Linked DNA regions of Homo sapiens: region 2 is linked to region 1. Evidence: promoter capture Hi-C in human tissues and cell types (Jung and others, 2019). All regions are on one chromosome and are shown on one strand. The core of a region is centred on a gene start or on the middle of the fragment in contact, and the rest is flanking DNA. Distances in the headings are between cores, read along the strand shown.

Region 1 (2,687 bases), core at 73-2,572:
TAGAATACTGCGATTCCCTTCCTGGCAACATATTTGTAACAGTCCTCAGTTGTTGACTTGGGTTGCATAGAGCAGCGGTTCTCAACCTTGAGCACGCTTCAGGGTCACCTGGAAGGCTTGTTAAAACACAAAAAGCGGGCCAGGCATGGTGGCTCACACCTGTAATCCCAGCACTTTGGGAGGCTGAAGTGGGAGAATTGCTTGAGGCCAGGAGTTCAAGACCAGCCTGGCAGACAAAGTGAGGCCACCCCACCCCCAATCCCGCCCTGGATCTACAAAAAATAAAACAATCTGCTGGGCATGGTGGCATGCTTCCATAGTCCCAGCTACTCAGAAGGCTGAGGTGGGAGAATCCCTTGAGTCCAGGAGTTAGAGACCAACCTGGGCAACACAGTGAGACCCCCATCTCTACAAAATAAAAAATTAGCTGGACATGGTGGCACACACCTGTTAGTCCCAGCTGCTTGGGGGGCCAAGGTAGGAGGATCTCTTGAGCCCGGGAGTGTGAGACCATCCTGGGCAACATAGGAAGATCCCTGCCTCTACGAAAATAAAATTAGCCAGGCATGGTGGTATATGTCTGTTATCCCAGGTACCCGGGAGGCTGAGGAGGGAGGATCACTTGAGCTTGGGAGGTCGAGGCTGCGATGAGCTATGATAATGCCACTGCACTCCAGACTGGGCAACAGAGCGAGACCCTGTCTCAAAAACAGAAAGAACAAACAAACAAACAAAACAATCCCCCCGCCCCCTCCCCCCCGCTCCCAAACTCATCATACACAAAAAGCTAAGCCCTTTCCCTGAAATGTCTGGTGTAAGAACCAGCACTTCTAGATAGTTTCCAGAGGATGCTGGTGCTTCTAGCCCAGGGACCACACTTGGGGAGCTGCTGCATTGGAGAAACTTGTTTCTCAAGACCTCTCCTATCTGTGCAGGTGTCCTGCAGCTGCAGACCCTCAGTGCTTTTCCTCCACATATCCTGCCACAGAGGGTCTGCCGTCTGCGTGCTTTGTCCACTCAGAGAGTCTAGACTTGGTCTCAGTCTCTTCTCTCTCTCTCGGCCTCTAGGAAGGAGACAGATTCCTCTCCCACAACCCTCCACCCCCACCCTCAGCTCAATCCTTTCCCCATCCCTCACCTGCTCACCAGGATGGCATCACCAAGGGGAGGGTCCCGGGAAGCCTCCTTCTCCACCAACTGCTAGAGGATCCCGAGGTCAGCACTAAACCCCTAGGAAGGGCATGGGGGCTACTCACCTGTGATCGCTGGGGTTAGCCTGATGTCTATGGGAAGGATTCATATGTGTACCCCCCCGCCCCCAGACTCTGCAGGTGAGTGGGGGAGCCAGGGGAACATCAGGGTATTTATAGTCTGGGGACTCTAGGAGACTTCGTCCCCATAGCTCCTTGTTAAGGAAGCGGATGCTAATTATTTTGTTTCTCCTCTGCCACATGTGACCTGTTCTTTTGGAGATGGGTGTGCTTTGGGATCATCGAGTGGGTAAGAAGAGGAAACAGTGACTAGGGATTCACTCTCACTAGGACATCTCCCTACGGTCTCCTTCCAGCTCAGGCTGAGCTTCATGGAAGCTCCCAGGCAGAGAGGTCTGGGGGGTCCCAGACTCCAGTCGGGCACTCAGATGCCTGAATCTGAGAGGTCCTTTCATTCATTGCATTATGGAAGAAACTGGCTCATTAAGGAAAGCTCCGAAGAGTATCAATCAATCAATAAATCGGTATTAAATAAATAAATTTATCAAACACTTTTTTTTGAGATGGAGTGTCACTCTTTCACCCAGCCTGGAGCACAGTGGAGCAATCTCGGCTCACTGCAACCTCCACCTCCTGGGTTCTAGCAATTCTCCCTCCTCAGCCTCTTGAGTAGCTGGAATTACTGGTGCCCACCACCATGCCCAGCTAGTCTTTGTATTTTTAGTAGAGACAGGGTTTCACCATGTTGGAAAGACTGATCTCAAACCTCAAGTGATCTGCTCTCCTCGGTCTCCCAAAGTGCTGGGATTACAGGCCTGAGCCACTGTACCCGGCCTATCAAACACTTCTTGATCACCTGCTTGGCACTGGAGTTGGACACGGTGGCTCATGCCTATAATCCTAGCTACTTGGGAGGCCAAGGTTGGAGAATCCCTTGAGCCTAGAAGTTTGAGACCAGCTTGGGCAAAACAGCAAGACCTTATATCTACAAAAAATTTAAAAAAATTAGCCAGGATTGGTGGCACATGCCCGTGGTCTCAGTTACCCAGGAGGCTGAGGTGGGAGGATCACTTGAGCCCTGGAGGTTGAGGCTGCAGTGAGCTGTGATCGCACCACTGCATTCCAACCTGGACAACGGAGTGAGACCCTGTCTCTTAAAAAAAAAATCCTTCCTATCAGCCACACAGAACGTGTGTAGGATACTTGTTGAAATTCTCCTAGGGGCTTTAGTAAATATTAGAATTACTTTCCCTAATAATATTGGCTGTTGGACTGTTGGCTCTTGGATCGTAACTCTGTGGGGAGGTCAGCTTCAAAGCAAGAACAAGGTAGACCAACTTCGCGTTGGACATATGGGGATATGAGTAGGTGCCAATCCCACTGTCATTATTTTTTTAAAATTAAAATTATTTTCAGAGGCTGGGCATGGTGGTTCACACCTGTAATCCTAGCACTTTGGGAGGCCGAGGCAGGTGG
Region 2 (2,687 bases), core at 89-2,588, 160 kb after region 1:
CAGTCTGGGTTCTTCTGAAAATCCCAGAAGTCGAAATTCTGAAATTCGTGTATCATTCTCTGGTTCCATGTGGTAGAGGTGACTATAAAAAAAAAAAAAAGAGAGAGAGAGAAAATACATGACATAAGCATGCTTTTTTCACCCATCAGAAAAGCTATTATTTATATCCTACAGTCAGCAAGTTAATTTCTATATTTTGTGTGTGAATCTGGTCTACTTTATGAGATCTCCCATCCCATCTCTGCTTAGGAATTCCTTTCCCATGATGCTCAACTTTTCCCCAAATGGTCATTTATTTAAAAACTTTGCCGGGTGCGGTGGCTCACACCTGTAATCCCAGCACTTTGGGAGGCAGAGGTGGGCGGGTCACCTGAGGTCGGGAGTTCAAGACCAGCCTGACCAACATGGAGAAAACCCATCTCTACTAAAAATACAAAGTTAGCCGGATGTGGTGGTGCGTGCCCGTAATCCCAGCTACTCGGGAGGTTGAGGCAGGAGAATCATTTGAACCTGAGAGGCAGAGGTTGCAGGGAGCCAAGATGGCGCCATTGCACTCCATCCAGCCTGGGCTACAAGAGCAAAACTCCATCTCAAACAAAACAAAACAAAACAAAACAAAAACCAATACTTTAATGATAAATTCTTTCATGGATTTGAGGAATTTAAATTGAGTGTTGTCAACGTTCCAGGCTCTGTCTAGACAATGAGTGAACAGTGCTGAAAAACAAAAGTTCCTACAGTGAAGTATGGAGAAGAATACAAGTAAATCATATACTGTGTCAGATGGTAACCAGGGCTAGCAAGAAAAAGAAAGAAGGTAAAAAGGCGAGGGTGGATAGAGGATGTTAATTTTCCTAGGTGTCCAGAGAATACTAGCAGTCAAGGTGATAGGTGCCCATCAATAGTGGATTGGACAAAGAAACTGTGGTACTTATACACCATGGAATACTAGGCAGCCATAAAAAAGAATGAAATCATGTCCTTTCCAGCTACATGGATGAAGCTAGAGGCCGTTATTCTGAGCGACCTAATGCAAGAACAGAAAACCAAATATCGCATGTTCTCACTTATAAATGGTAGCTAAACATCGAATATACGTGAACACAAAGATGGGAACAATTGACACTGGAGACCGCTGGACAGAGGATGGAGGGAGGGGGATGTGAGCTGAAGAACCATCTGTTGGGTCCTATGCTTACCTCCTGAGTGATGGGATTGTTAGGACCCGAAGCCTCAGCATCACACAATTTACCCGTGTAACAAACCTGCACATGTACCCTTTAATCTGTAAGAAAAGCTGAAATTTTTAAAAAGAGAAATGAGACCTCAAGGAAGACAGGGCGGGAGCCATGAGGATATCTGGGAATGTGTGTGCCCAGCAGAAAGAATGGCCGGTGCAAAGGTGTAGAGGAAGGTTTCAGATGTTCAAGGCCAACGAGGAAGCCAGTGTGGCAGGGAAATCTGTGAGAGGTAAGTGATGGGAGATGGTGTCAGAAGATGTTGCACTATGAGGTGACTTCATTGCTGCTGAAGCTTCAAAATACAAGAAGTCCCTCTGCCCAGATTTTGTTTGGTTTGGTTTGGTTTTGAGACAGAGTCTCACTCTGTCGGCCAGGCTGGAGTGCAGTGGCATGATGTGGGTTCACTGCAACCTCCACCTCCTGGGTTCAAGAGATTCTCCTGCCTCAGCCTCCCAAGTAGCTGAGACTACAGGTGCCTGCTACCATGCCCTGCTAAGATTTATATTTTTTGGTAGAGATGGGGCTTCACCATGTTGGCCAGGCTGGTCTCAAACTCCTGACCTCAAGTGATCCTTTTGTCTCGGCCTCCCAAAGTGCTGGGATTACAGGCGTGAGCCACCACGCCCAGGCTTGTCCTGATGTTTTCTATTTGCACTTTAATAAATTGGCTCCATGTCCCATGAATTGAAATGCATCCTTTGTTTATTTCCATATGCTGCCTTGCGTGCTGACCTCTGTATTCTGAGTCACCTTTTGGAATATATTGAGTCCAGGTCCCTTTACTTTTTTTTTTTTTTTTTTTTTTTTTGAGACGGAGTCTCGCTCTGTTGCCCAGGCTGGAGTTCAGTGGCGCGATCTCGGCTCACTGCAACTTCCGCCTCCCAGGTTCACACCATTCTCCTGACTCAGCCTCCCAAGTAGCTGGGACTACAGGCGCCCGCCACCACGCCCGGCTAATTTTTTTGCATTTTTAGTAGAGGCAGGGTTTCACCATGTTAGCCGGGATGGTCTCGATCTCCTGACCTCGTGATCTGCCTGCCTCGGCCTCCCAAAGTACTGGGACTACAGGCGTGAGCCACTGCGTCCCTCTACTCTTAAAAGGGATATCTCTACCTCATTTGTATGTCATATTCTTTTATGCCTAGGTCTTTGCAACTTTAATTATTTATCCATGTTGAAAACATTAAATTATTGCTACTTCATATCTTGTTTCAGTTAATTAGCAAGGCTCCTTTCAATTCTGTTTAATGATGTTATTTTGAAATCACTCTCCCCACTAAAGACAGACACACATATGCACAATTAGTACAGACACACACACAGGCACACACTTGAAGCTGAATGAGGACTCCTGGGACTGTGTTTATAGCAAGCTGTTCTCACCTCCAGTCACACCATTAATATTAGAGAGGAATGGAAATGAAGCAAGCTTTCAATATCAGATTA

Evidence for each region. Contacts are between HindIII fragments. The study calls those that stand out against the background at their distance.
Region 2: a fragment that was not itself captured here is called in contact with the fragment with the promoter of OR1I1 in region 1 in 4 of the 25 tissues and cell types used here (bladder, liver, lymphoblastoid cells and 1 more).

Annotation. Positions count from the first base shown.
Region 1 is chr19:15,080,846-15,083,532 of GRCh38, reverse strand. OR1I1 (olfactory receptor family 1 subfamily I member 1) reads right to left here and starts at 1,322. Exons shown (of 2, transcript NM_001004713.2): 1 at 1,257-1,322. The HindIII fragment of the contact is 16,029 bases long and covers 1-2,687 here.
Region 2 is chr19:14,924,434-14,927,120 of GRCh38, reverse strand. No RefSeq gene overlaps it. Among named protein-coding and RNA genes, the nearest start is that of OR7C2, 16 kb to the left of the region's middle. The HindIII fragment of the contact is 7,045 bases long and covers 1-2,687 here.